Regions from separate parts of the Homo sapiens genome. Here regions 1, 2, 4 and 5 are each linked to region 3. Evidence: promoter capture Hi-C in human tissues and cell types (Jung and others, 2019). All regions are on one chromosome and are shown on one strand. The core of a region is centred on a gene start or on the middle of the fragment in contact, and the rest is flanking DNA. Distances in the headings are between cores, read along the strand shown.

Region 1 (2,827 bases), core at 141-2,640, 270 kb before region 3:
CTCTTGCCTCAGCCTCCGATGTAGAATTACAGTCCTGTTCCACCATGCCTGGCCACTTTTGTGTTTTTAGTAAAGACAGGGTTTCACCATGTTGGTCAGGCTGGTCTTGAACTCTTGACCTCTAGCGATCCACCTGCCTTGGCCTCCAACAGTGCTGGGAATTACAGGCGTGAGCCACTGTGCCCGGCCTTGTTTTTATAATAAGATAAGAGATGGAGGCCGGGGCAGTGGCTCACGCCTGAAATCCCAGCACTTTGGGAGGCCGAGGTGGGTGGATCACCTGAGGCCAGGAGTTCAAGACCAGCCTGGCCAACATGGTGAAACCCCCACTCTATTAAAAAAAAAAAAAATTAGCTGGTTGTGGTGGTGCATGCCTGTAGTCCCTGCCACTCAGGAGGCTGAGTAGCATGGGAATCAATTGAACCCAGGAAACGGAGGTTGCAGTGAGTCGAGATCGCGCCACTGCATTTCAGCCCAGGCCACTGAGTGAGACTCTGTCTCAAAAAAAACCATAAAATAAAATAAAAAATAAGCTAGAGATGGAATCTTGCTGTGTTGCCCAGGCTGGCCTCCAGCTCCCAGCCTCAAGTAATCCTCTGCCTTGGTCTCCTGAAGTGCTGGGATTACAGGGATGAGCCACTGCACCTGGCCAGTCTGTATGTTTTATAACCTGTATTAGTCAGGGTAGGTAATGCTAGTTAAAATCTGTGGCCTGACAAAGAAAACATTTATTTCTTGCTCACACTTTTTTAGATGGTTCTTTTCTAAGTGGTGACTTGGGGATCTGGGCTCCTTCCATTTTTGTCACAACTGACAAGAAGATGTGACCTTAAGTTTGCCGTGTAATTTTGTGCATGGAAGTTTTTTTCATGGGCCAAGCTTGGAAGTAGTAGTATTTCTTCTGCGGTCTGTTGGCTGTATTTTAGGTGCAAGGGGGCTGGGAAGTGGAGTCCTTTGGTGTGTCCGTGAGGAAAATGTAATAGCACCGTGTCTGCTATGCTACTTAACCAAACTCTGTTGTTCTTATTTTTCAGTAGATTCTCTTGAGTTTCTTAGATAGGTAATCATAATACACATTGAGCATTTCTAATCCCCAAATCTAAAATGGGAAACTTTTGAGCACTGACAGGATGCCACGAGTGGAAAATTCCGCACCTGACCTCATGTCATGGGTTGCAGTCAAAACTTTATTTCATATGCAAATTTTTTTTTTTTTAAGGGATCTTGCTCTGTCACTCAGGCTGAAGTATAGTGGCAAGATCATGGCTCACTGCAGCCTTAATCTCCTAGGCTCAAGCGATCTTCCTGCTTTGGCCTTCCAAAGTGCCAGGATTACAGGTGTGAGCCGTTGCACCTGGCCATTATACACAAAATTATTTAAAATATTGAGTAGAATTACCTTCAGGCTATGTGTCTAAGGCGTATATGAAACATAAATGAATTTTGTGTTCAGACTTCGGTCCCATTCTCAAGATATCTCACTATATATATATGCAAATATTCCAAAATCAGAAAAGATACAAAATTTGAAACACTTCTGGTCCCAAGCATTTTATACAAGGAATACTTAACTTGTAGCTGCAAATGATCATTTTGTCTTTTTTTTTCCTCCTTCCTATAGTTAGCTATTTCTTTTTCTTTTTTTTTTTTTTGAGACGGGGTCTCGCTCTGTCACCCAGGCTGGAGTGCAGCAGCGATCTCGGCTCATTGCAAGCTCTGCCTCCCAGGTTCAAGTGATTCTCCTGCCTCAGCCTCCTGAGTAGCTGGGACTACAGGCACCCACCACCATGCCCGGCTAATTTTTGTATTTTTAGTAGAGATGGGGTTTCACCACATTGGTCAGGCTGGTCTCGAACTCCCTCCTGACCTTGTGATCCACCCGCCTCGGCCTCCCAAAGTGCTGGGATTACAAATGTGAGCCACCGCGCCCGGCCTAGTTAGCGATTTCTTTTCCTTTTCCCTTTCCCTTTCCCTTTCCTTGACAGAGTCTCACTCTTGCTGCTCAGCTGGAGTGCAATGGCGCAATCTTGGCTCACTGCAACTTCCACCTCCAGGTTCAAGCGCTTCTCCTGTCTCAGCCTCCCTAGTAGCTGGGATTACAGGTGCCTGAACACCTGGCTAATTTTTTTTTTCTTTCTTTCTTTTTTTTTTTTTGAGACGAAGTCTCTCTCTATCGCTAGGCTGGAGTGCAGGGGCGCGATCTCAGCTCACCACAACCTCCATCTCCTGGGTTCAAGTGATTCTCCTGCCTCAGCCTCCCGAGTAGCCGGGACTACAGGTGTGTGCCACCATGCCTGGCAAATTTTTGTATTTCTAATAGAGACAGGGTTTCACTATGTTGGCCAGGCTGGTCTCTAACTCTTGACCTCATGATCCACCTGCCTCAACCCCCCAAAGTGCTGGGATTACAGGTGTGAGCCACTGTGTCCAGCCAATTTTTGTATTTTTAATAGAGACAGGGTTTCACCATGTTGGCCAGGCTGATCTCGAACTCCTGACCTCAGGTGATTGGCCCCCCCTCGGTTTCCCAAAGTGCAGGGATTACAGGCGTGAGCCACCACACACGGTCAGCTACTTTTTGTTTTTGAGGTGGAGTTTTGCTCTTGTTGCCCAAGCTGGAGTACAATGGTGTGATCTTGGCTCACTGCAACCTCCGCCTCCCTGGTTCAAGCAATTCTCCTGCCTCAGCCTCCTGAGTAGCTGGGATTACAGGTGCCCACCACCAGGCCTGGCTAATTTTTTTTGTATTTTTAGTAGAGACAGGGTTTCGCCATGTTGGCCAGGCTTGTTTTGAACTGCTGACCTTGAGTGATCCGTCTGCCTTGGC
Region 2 (2,767 bases), core at 12-2,511, 320 kb before region 3:
CCTTTTTTTTTTTTTAGAGATGGAGTTTCGCTCTTGTTGCCCAGGCTGGAGTGCAATGGCACGATCTCAGCTTACCACAACCTCCACCTATGGGGTTCAAGCGATTCTCCTGCTTCAGCCTCCCGAGTAACTGGGATTACAGGCATGTACCACCATGCCCAGCTAATTCTGTATTTTTAGTAGAGAAGGGGTTTCTCCATGTTGGTCAGGCTGGCCTCGAACTCCCAACCTCATGTGATCTGCCTGCCTCAGCCTCCCAAAATGCTGGGATTACAGGCGTGAGACACCGCACCCAGCTGTATTCTTTTTATGCTATTATAAATAGAATTATTTTCTTAATTTCATTTTCAGATTGTTCTTTGTTAGTATATAGTAACACAACTGATTTTCATGTATTGCTTTTGTGTCCTGCTGCTTTGCCAAATTTGTTTAGTAGTTCCAAAGGGTTTTTTGTGGAATCTTTAGGGTTTTCTAAGATCATATAATCTATGAATAATAATTTTCCTTCTTCCTTTCCAATTTGGATGCATTTTCTTTCTTTCTTCTTTTCTTTCTATTCCCTCCTTTTCCTTTTCTTTTTTCTTTTCTTTCCTTTTCTTCCTTTTTGCCTAATTGCTCTATCTAGAAATTCCAAGACTACGTGGTATGGAAGTGGTGAAAGTGGGCATTCTTGTCTTGTTCCTGATCTTCGAGGAAAAAGTTTGTCTTGCATCATTGAGTATGATTTAACTATGGGGTTTTCATATATGGCTATCATATTGTGGTAGTTTTCTTCTATTTCTAGTTTGCTGCATTTTTTTTTTAATCATGAAAGCGTGTTGAACTTTTTCAAAAGCTTTTTGTGCATTGACTAAGATGATCATGTGGTTTTTGTCTGTCATTCAGTTACTGTTGTGCATTACACTTACCGATTCTGGGATTGATTTTAAAGCATTCATTCCTCCAAACACACTCCCAGGGTTAGGTCTCTTACCTCTGCATGTATTTAGGAAAAAGACATAATATGACCAACTTCCCAACTATTAAACCATGTTTAGGATAAACTGTATTTTGTTATGGTGCCTTATTTATTTATTTATGAGACGGAGTCTTGCTGTGTCACCCAGGCTGGAGTGCAGTGGCGTGATCTCGGCTCACTGCGACCTCCGCCTCCCAGGTTCAAGTGATCCTCCTGCCTCAGCCTCCTGAGTAGCTGGGATTACAGGCACGCACCACCACATCTGGCTAATTTTTATATTTTTAGTAGAGACAGGGTTTCACCGTGTTGGCCAGGCTCGTCTCGAACTCCTGACCTCAGGTGATCTGCCCCACCTTGGCCTCCCAAAGTGCTGGGATTTACAGGCGTGAGCCACCGACCCTGGCCTGGCGCCTTCTTTTAAATAAGTTTTTTTTTTTTTTTTGAGATGAAGTCTTGCTCTGTCGCCCAAGCTGGAATACAGTGGTGTGATCTCGTAACCTCTGCCTCCCGGGTTCAAGCAATTCTCTGTCTCAGCCTCCTGAGTAGCTGGGATTACAGGTGTCCGCCACCATGCCCGGCTAATTTTTGTATTTTTAGTAGAGATGGGGTTTTGCCATCTTGGCCAGGCTTGTCTTGAACCCCTAACCTCGTGATCCACCCGCCTCGGCCTCCCAAAGTGCTGGGATTACAGGCATGAGCCACCGCGTCTGGCCCTTTTAAATAGTTTTATACTGCATACTATATTCAGTCTTTAGTGGTAGATGAATTCTTACTCTGTTGTTGCGTGCCCTGGAGAGCATAGTTCCTTGGAGACACCAAAGGAAGATTTTTCCAGGAAGGTCTTTTGGGAAGGGGCCTCCTCCAAGAAGGGAGTGAGGAAGGAGGTAGATTGAGTCAATGCACTTTTCCTCTATCTGGTCAGAGTTCTTGAAGGTATTTTTCTTCTGAACTTGGGTGGGGTTTGCAGTGGGGTAGGGGAAAAGAGAAATGATTCTGACACATACAAGAAAATGCTCCTTTGTGGGGCACGGGGGCAGGAGTTGCTTCCAAAAGGACCCAACAAAGACCTGTAGGGAACGTTTAAATTTATCTGTGTGTGGCCGGGCATGGTGGCTCATGCCTGTAATCCCAGCACTTTGGGAGGCCAAAGTAGGTGGATCACCTGAGGTCGGGATTTTGAGAGCAACCTGGACAACATGGTGAAACATGGTGAAACCCCGTCTCTACTAAAAATACAAAGTTAGCCCGGCATGGTGGCGCGTACCTGTAATCCCAGCTATTCGGCAGGCTGTGGAAGAAGAATCTCTTGAACCTGGGAGGCGGAGACTGCAGTGAGCCAAAATTGCGCCATTGCACTTCAGCCTGGATGACAAGAGCGCAACTCTGTCTCAAAAAATAAATAAATAAATATCTGTGTGAACTAGCACTTGAGAGACTGCAGCCTCAGGCAGTTTTCAGCCCTGTGCACACAATGAAATTACCTAAGGGGCTTAAAAAAAAATACGGAAGCCTGGGTCCCACCCCAGAGGCTCTGAGGGAAGTAACCTGCAGTGCAGTTTTTAACCATCCACAGGTGTTCGTCATGCAGCGCCAAGGTTGGGTAATGAAGAGCTGACATTGATTGAAGCTTACTCTGTGCCAAGCTCCATTCTACAAGTTTTACTTCACAATAACCTTACAAGACAGGTCTACTGTTATCCTTCATAGAGGGCCATTGAGGCACAAAGAGGTTAAGTGCTGGCCAAGGACACCCAGTTCATAAGGGGTATTCTCTCCACTTGAACTTCAGAGCCCATGCCCCTTACCACA
Region 3 (2,688 bases), core at 80-2,579:
ACAGCGGGGAGGTGGCAGACCTGCACTGGGCTCTGTCTAATGCTGCACTGCATGTGTCCACTAGCCATGCCCCACTGCCCATCTGGGTTTCAGGAGAAGACAGTGCTCACACACTGTGCTTTTCACTCACTGGGTATGATGCCCCCTGAGCTGGGCAAAGGGCAAAGGGCAGGGCCCTTGAGGAATTTCGGAGAAAACGAGATGAAAGGGAAGACAGGAGGGCCTGGGGGAACACCAGGAGGGTCCCGGGTCAAGGTGGCCCTGGGACATCCGAAGGGCTGCCACTGATGTCATGGAAAAGCCCCTCACCCCACACCTTAAGGTTGCCTGTCACATTCGGCTCCTGAATCTACAATAGCCATCAAGGAAATCCACTTCCCAAGGCCGACTGTCAGGGCATTCTAGCACCTGGGTCTTTGCCTGTGTGGATTAGGGAAATGGAAGGAGTTCCCATACCGGAGCTTGCCTAAGCTGTCTCCTAGGCAAAGACTTACTGTGAGGCCATGGGGCCCCAGAGCTGGAGGAGGCTGACAGGGAGCTTGTTTCGCCCCTCACACACCCTCCACCACCCTGCTGCAGCTTCCCTAAAAGTGGCTAATGTTCCTCTGATAAAATGTTCAACTCTGATGCCACATTGCTCCTTATATTAAAAAAAAAAGGCAAAACACAGCTGAAGTGATCTCTAGAAGCACATCCAGTCATCTCTAGAAGCCTGCAAAGAGGCCTCACTGACCTTTCCTTGCTTGTAGACATCGCCTCGTCTTTGTCCCAGGGTGGCTATGAGCATCTGGACCCCCTCACCCCACTCTCTCTGCCTCCTGAGCACAGTGAACTCAGACTGACTTTCTCCAAAGAGATCCAAGCATGAAGCAAATATTCATTAGTCTCCTAAATAGGGCCATACTCCACATCATTCCTTTTTTAAGGAGAAATCTTAAATAAGATTAATGGCATAATAGATCATTTCAGGTGAGTCAAATAAAAAAAATAAAAGCACAGCATTCTTGAGAAAGAGATTAGTTTTCATAGGCAGAAGCTTAAAGGCAAAACAAAATCCCAACCCACAAACCCTAAAGTAGCATTTTATTATAGCACCAACTTAGAGAAAGGCAAGCCCAGTGATGACTGGGTATCCTCGCAAGTCTACCCTGAACTTGGGACCCATCCCCAGGTGTGGGAGTAAAGAAATCATTGCATGATTTTCAATCTGGGATCGAGCCTTGATAAGAAACCAGCAGTCCTGACCACAGAAGTGGCCCCCCACGTACCTTGGCTCTCTCTGGAGTGTGCCTCTGGAGCCTCGAGCTGCACAGTCCCCCAGCACACCCTCTTGGCAGCCAGGTCCGCCCAGCTATATAGGAGCTGCCGGGGGAGGTGGCATTCCTGCAGGTCTCCAAATAAGGCAGCCCTTCCCTCCCCGGCAGACCAATCAGGGCTTCCTGGACCACTCCTTCATCCTGAGAAGGATGGACCTTCTCATCACACTTTACTAAGGAAACCACGTGAAAATCTTGATGAAGTTCAGCAAGGCTTCAGAGGTGCCTTTTAGAATTGGAATGAGATGTGTTAGAAGGAAAATGCTTTTCCCATCAATATCTATGACAGATGTGGCTTCAACAAGCCTCGCTGGACATGCATAGTGTCCTGTACCTAAAGGCCGGCCTTGGACAGCAAAGCAGTCTTTGCTGACAGCCTCTGTGGGGAGGTTCAGCTCAAAAAGAGGGCAAGCGTTCACCTGGACCACCACGCCCTGAGGATGGGACCAACAGGGTGTGTGTGTGGTGGTGGGGGGGGGGGGCGCCGGGGGGCGGTTACACTTTCATCGGGTAGTGGGAAAACAGAACTGGTAGGTATGGGGTGGAAGACACGTGAGAAGACTTCCTGGCATGTTGGGCGAGGAATGCTTGAAGGACTGAATTAGCCCAAAGGCCAATAAGTTAAAGATCTGCGGGAACCCCGGGAGCAGAGACACATTGACACGCAGCCAGTCCCCTGGACAGGTGGTGCGGGCTGAGGGCGAGTTCTGCAGAGTGCCTTCTCCTCTACATGGTGTCCGAGCGCTGCGCAGAAGGGGCTGGAGGTGCATTCCTGGGCTTTCCAAAGCAAGAGACTCATTGGTATTGGGTGACCATTTTGGGCCTTATACAGAAGGGACTTGCTCAGGTGTCCCTGTTACAGTTAGTACTGCAAGGCAAAGTCAAAAGTGAATATGGGAGCAAGTATGGGGCCAGATTTTCCTGTAAACAGAATGCGATTTTTATGCTGAATGTGACCCCGTCAGTGTTCACGGTGGATTTGCGTCAGAGCAATTTTGCAAACCAAATTAAACGGTTGTTATCGAGAAGGACAGCAGATAGCGCCAGAGAGCTGACAAAGACCGCAGCCGGTCGGTGGGAAACCCGGGCTTCTGGGCTCTGGGTGGATTTGGGGCCTCCGGTTGGGCCTTTCTTTCTCCTCTGACTTTAACATTTGTTTCACTTCCCCACTTTTTTTTTTTTAAGAACTTTTCTATTTCCTTTCTAGAACCACAGACTTTTTGTGCTTCTGAATACACACAAAACAGAAACACAGTAGTGTAATCTTAGTACAGACTGTTTGCAAAATGGAGATGAAAAAATCAAAATCTCCTAATAGTTCAGTACCCAGAGACAAATGTCAGGACAATTTTGTTTCACATATAGATACTTA
Region 4 (2,833 bases), core at 91-2,590, 420 kb before region 3:
CTCCAGCCTGGATGACAGAGCAAGACTCTGTCTCAAAAAAAAAAAAAAAAAGAAGAAGAAGAAGAAGAAAAAGAAAAAGAACTGAAAGCAGAGACTCAAACAGATATTTGTACACTCATGTTCCTAGCAGCATTATTCACAATTTGGATTGTTTGAAGTTTGGGGCTACTACAAAGAACACTGCTTTGAATGTTCTGGAACTTGACTTTCAGTGAATACATGTACAGATTTCTACTGGGCAATCACCTAAGAGTGGAACTGCTTGGTCACAAAGTCTGTGTATATTTAGCTTTAGTAAATATTGTCAAGCAGTTTTCCAGAATGATTGTGCCAATCTATACTCCCTCAAGCAGTCTATGAAAGGTCCTCTTGCTCCATATACTTGCCAACCGTCAAAGTTTTCATTCTTTTTAATTTTAGCCAATCTAGTGGGTGTGCAGTTGTATCTTATCGAGGGTTTTAATTTTGCACCTCTCAGATGGCTAATGATACTAGGCATCTTTTCATGTTTATTGATCATCTGAAGTGCCCATTTTTGGCTGGGCATGGTAGCTCACACCAATAATACCAGCACTGTGGGAGGCTGAGGCAGGAGGAATGCTTGAGCCCAGGAGTTCAAGACCAGCCTGGTCAACATAGTGAGACTCTGTTTCTACAAAAAAATACAAAAATTAGCCAGACATGGTGGTGTTTGCCTGTATTTCCAGCTATTAGGGAGGCAAAGGCAGGAGGATCCCTTGATCCCAGCAGTTTGAGGCTTTGGTGAGCCACTGCACTCCAACCGGGCAACAGAGTGAGAACCTGTCTCAAAAAAAATAAAAAAACAAAGTGCCCATTTTTCTACTGAGTTGTCTTTTTATATACATTTATTTTGAAGTAATTATTTATAGATTCTAGAAATTAGCCCTGCATCAGATACATTTGTTATAAATATCTTCTCATTGCCTGTGGCCTTCCTTTTCACTCTTAATACTGTGGTTCAATAAACATAAGTTCTTAATTTTAATGTTGCTCAATTTACCAACAGTTTCTTTTATGGTTAGTGCTTTTTATACAGGAGGAATATACATCACCATGCCAATATCACACCTAAAAAATTAACAATTCCTTTATTTTAAATATCCAATATTCAAATTTACCCAATAACTTCAATTCTTTCTCTTTATTGCAGTTTGATTGGATCAGGATCCAAATTAGATCCAGAAATCATTAATATGCCTTAAGTTTTTTTTTTTAGATGGAGTCTTGCTCTGTTACCCAGGTCGGAATGCAGTGGCGTGATCTTGGCTCACTGCAACCTCCACCTCCTGGGTTCAAGCGATTATCCTGCCTCAACCTCCCGAGCAGCTGGGATTACAGGCATGCACCATCATGCCAGGCTAATTTTTCTATTTTTAGTAGAGATGGGGTTTCACCATGCTGGCCAGGGTGGTCTCAAACTCCTGACCTCAATTGACCCACCTGCCTCAGCCTCCCAAAGTGCTGGGATTATGGATGTGAGCCACCGCACTCGGCCTTAAATATTTTATTTAGGAGATAGGGTCTCACTCTATTGCTCAGGCTTGTCTTGAACTCCTGGCCTCAAGCCATCCTCCCACCTCAGCCTTTAGAGCGCTGGAATTACAGGCACAAGTGAACCAGCACCTAAAGTCTTTTAATCTATATGTTTTACCTTTCATATCTATCTCTATCACTCCCCACTCTTCCATGTTTTTTGAAATCAGAGAGAGTAGTGTGTGAAAGTGGTAAAACTCAAACTCGTTTTTTTTCCCTCTGTTCTCACACTGTAACAACAATCACAGAAGACTTCTGTGACCAAATGTTTTGGATGTCTCCCCACACACTCAACAAGCAATCAATTCTGCAGCGGACAGTAGCTGGGTACCATCCAATTCAATTCACTTCAGCCACTATTTGCCTAGAGATAGCTTCAGAAACCACAGGTTGAGAGCTCAGTCCCACATGACCACCCCCTCTTTTCCATCAGTTGTAGATCTGAGGCTCAAGAATTTCTGATCTACCAGTTTCAAGCTGGAGTCCCCATCACCCCCCACCCAATACAATATTGTATATTGGATACAAATATACAATATTTGCATATTGGATACAAATATACAGCCAGATGAAGAGATATATAGGGAGAGGTCTGGAAGAGTCCCCATTGCAAGAGCTTCGGAGTCTCCAGTGCAAGAGCTTCTGTCCCAGTGGAGCTGGGGTGCACCACCCCCCCAGCATGTGTTCACCTTCCTGTAAGCCTCCACATGTTCAGCTACTCAGGAGTTCCCTGAACCCTGTCCTCTAAAGCCTTTTATAGAGACTTCATTAGATGCACACATTGCATGGACAACCATGCAGAAATGTGACTAAACAAAAAGGATACTATCTAATACTAATAGACTAAGTGGGGAAACCCAGCAAGGCCTGTCTGTTCAGATTCTTCTTAGCCTCCCTGTGCAGCAGTCTTTCCTCCAGGATATAGGGTTTTGAAATGAGGGTCTTATAGCAATCAAACAAGGAAAGCCAGATAATTTTTTATGGCCAGCTCCAAGATAGAAAGGCAGGAGAAGATTCCTGCCTTGGGGAGAGAAAGGAGCAGGAGAAAGGGGAGGAGGAGATGGTCAGAGAGGGAGATTTTATTTTTGGAGGCCTGCTTCTGAGTTTCCAAGTGCCCCAAAGTTATAACAAGAGACTTTAATAAGGGCTTTCAGAATTATAAGCCAGGAAATCACAGACATGGAAAAAGAAATTTACACACACACACTTATTTACTAAAGCAACCAGGTCCATGTGATCTTCAGTCTCTTGAATTTCCTATAAACCAGCACTTAGAACT
Region 5 (2,688 bases), core at 72-2,571, 440 kb before region 3:
CAACCAGTCAAGGGCAGACCTACCCCTTCAGCAAGCATATGAAGTGTTAAGTAGTTGCAGGGCTAAGAAAAGACCTAAGCAAAGCCATCCTCAGCAGAGATGCCGGCTCTCCCCTGCCTTTCTTTTAAATTTAATTCAGTGGCCAGTTACTACTCTGCCTTTTAATAGCAGCAGCAACAGATGAAACAGTTGTGATTCTCGCAGCATCAAATGGCAGTGGCACAAACAGCTCAGCTTCATCATCATCGGCATATGAGCAGCCAGTCAAAAACTAAAATGAAGAAGGCATATCAACCACTCCAATATTCTGAATCTTGCATTATTTTTTCCTCTTTTTTAAAAACATAAGGGCACTGAATCACAAGGATTCTGAGTTTTTACTTCATTTTTAAAAATGTGTCAGTAATTTATACTGCTAAGATGTACAAACTTTACACAGGTGCACAACCCCATTTTTTTTAAGTAAAAACAGGGTAATTATTTAACAAACTAGGGTTGGTTTGCTTTTTAAACTGCACATAATATATATGGAAATGACCTAAAAATTACTAGAAAAATCTTTCAAAAGAACCCAGTTTGGTATATATTTTGTAGAAAAGGTTTGTGAATAATGTAACAAATACAATTTTTACAAATCTGTTTTGGGGGAAAAGAGGAACAGAACAAAGCAGTTACCATCTGCACAGGCATTATTATTCCTTTGACATCTTGCTAATAGTCTGTTAATGAACATCAAAACACCTAAAATTTTCTTCTGATGCTTTACAAAGATTCCTTACACTTGTTTACATGCAAATCATCCAAAACAAAAAGAAAAAAACTATAATATACTTTTAAATTACTGAACTATAAAATTTTAACATAATTTCATCTTCAAATGAATTTATCAAGACCATTGAGTCATTTTTTGATGCTTCTCTGTTCTACATTATCTGACATAAAATTTATGTCACACACTGGGGCCTGTTGTGGGGTGGGGGGAGGGGGAGGGAAAGCATTAGGAGAAATACCTAATGTAAATGACGAGTTAATGGGTGCAGCACACCAACATGGCACATGTATACATATGTAACAAACCTGCACGTTGTGCACATGTACCCTAGAACTTAAAGTATAATTTAAAATATATATTAAAAAAAAGAAAATGTAACACATTAGATTTCTGATATTAATTTGAAATGAATAACAAAATTTAGTCAAGTTTGTAAAGGTCTTAAATGTTTGATAAAACTTTACTACAAAAAAAAAATTCAATCTGATTTTCAAAGCGGCTCGCTTATCCTTCTGTTCCATCGCAAAGACACATGGGTTAAAGCAAGGTTTTCCTAACATCAAGTGCCTCACCCTCACCTGTGCTGAGATAACAGCGTGAAGGAGTCTCAATTCATCTTCACTGTCAGATTTAAATTTTGTTTGGAGAACCCCTAACGTATCAGCAGAGAACACAGTTTGCAAATCACTGCAAAACACCACCATATATCTCTGACAAATGAGTTATTACTACTTGAGGATGCACCTTGTAAGATACAACGATCACCCAGTATTAAATTCCTACTGTGTCCCCAAACCGCTAGCTGCTCAGAAATTGGCTGTGTTCTCATTCTGTCACTCCAACCAGAAACTGGGGTACATAGTGGTGGCTCTGTTTGTACATATCAAACCAAGATTCACAAGCTTTACTGTTAATAGAAAAGTCTACTTATAGTCTTATATCCTGAAAATATGTCATTTGACAACCTGGAGACCAGAGTCAAACAGAATCCATTATAATCTGGAAACAAGTGAAAAATCTTGGTGAGATTTTACAGGGTTGTTTAAAAAATGATGACCTAGGCCAGGCCCAGTGGCTTACACCTACATGTAATCCCAGCACTTTGGGAGGCCAAGGCAGGTAGATCACTTGAGGTCACGTGCTCAAAATCAACCTGGACAACATGGTGAAACCCCGTCTGTACTAAAAATACAAAAAAATTAGCTGGGCGTGGTGGCAGGTGCCTGTAATCCCAGCTACTCAAGAGGCTGAGGCAAGAGAATCACTTGATCTCGAGAGGCAGAAGTTGCAGTGAGCCGAGACTGTGCCATTGCACTCCAGCCTGGGCAACCAAGAGCAAAACTCTGTCTTAAAAAAAAAAAAAAAAAAAAAGACCTAAAGCAGGAGCCAATCTTTTGGCTTCCCTGGCCCACACTGGAAGAAGAATAACTGTCTTGGGCCACATATAAAATACACTAACACTAACGATAGCTGATAAGCTAAAACAAGCAAACAAACAAAAAACAAAAAACTCATAATGTTTTAAGAAAGTTTACGAATTTGTGTTGGGTCGTGGGTCAGACAAGCTTGAACTAAAGGACCTAAAATGATAATCTGTCAGTAACAAGCTCCTTCAGAAAGAAGTGAAATAAGTGCCTGCCACCTACCCCAATCTGAAGTCTTGGCCTACGGTGGTCTGCATATTTATGTCTCCCCAAAATTCATACGCTGAAATCCTAACCCCCATCTCAATGGTATTAGAAGATGGAGCTACTGGAAGGTGATTAGGTCATGAGGCTGAACCCCTCATTAATGGGATTAGCACCCTTATAAAAGAGGTCCCAGAGAAATCCTTCTTCCACCACATAAGGACTCAGTGAGAAGCCCTGGATGAACCAGAAAGCAGCTCCTTACCAGACACTCAATCTGCTGGCGCC

The links. Contacts are between HindIII fragments. The study calls those that stand out against the background at their distance.
Region 1: a contact is called between a fragment that was not itself captured here and the fragment with the promoter of PRND in region 3, in 1 of the 25 tissues and cell types used here (spleen).
Region 2: a fragment that was not itself captured here is called in contact with the fragment with the promoter of PRND in region 3 in 1 of the 25 tissues and cell types used here (lymphoblastoid cells).
Region 4: a fragment that was not itself captured here is called in contact with the fragment with the promoter of PRND in region 3 in 1 of the 25 tissues and cell types used here (lymphoblastoid cells).
Region 5: a fragment that was not itself captured here is called in contact with the fragment with the promoter of PRND in region 3 in 1 of the 25 tissues and cell types used here (spleen).

Annotation. Positions count from the first base shown.
Region 1 is chr20:4,988,062-4,990,888 of GRCh38, reverse strand. The region is part of intron 1 of SLC23A2 (solute carrier family 23 member 2); the gene reads left to right. Among named protein-coding and RNA genes, the nearest start is that of SLC23A2, 12 kb to the left of the region's middle. The HindIII fragment of the contact is 6,103 bases long and covers 1-2,827 here.
Region 2 is chr20:5,044,037-5,046,803 of GRCh38, reverse strand. No RefSeq gene overlaps it. Among named protein-coding and RNA genes, the nearest start is that of SLC23A2, 44 kb to the right of the region's middle. RefSeq lists a silencer at 1,346-1,565. The HindIII fragment of the contact is 5,043 bases long and covers 1-2,767 here.
Region 3 is chr20:4,720,550-4,723,237 of GRCh38, reverse strand. It overlaps PRND (prion like protein doppel), which reads right to left and starts at 1,329. Exons shown (of 2, transcript NM_012409.4): 1 at 1,269-1,329. RefSeq lists an enhancer at 2,407-2,626. The HindIII fragment of the contact is 13,371 bases long and covers 1-2,688 here.
Region 4 is chr20:5,140,848-5,143,680 of GRCh38, reverse strand. All of the region lies in intron 1 of CDS2 (CDP-diacylglycerol synthase 2), which reads right to left. Among named protein-coding and RNA genes, the nearest start is that of CDS2, 15 kb to the right of the region's middle. The HindIII fragment of the contact is 5,707 bases long and covers 1-2,833 here.
Region 5 is chr20:5,157,620-5,160,307 of GRCh38, reverse strand. The region is part of intron 1 of CDS2 (CDP-diacylglycerol synthase 2); the gene reads right to left. Among named protein-coding and RNA genes, the nearest start is that of CDS2, 32 kb to the right of the region's middle. The HindIII fragment of the contact is 3,264 bases long and covers 1-2,688 here.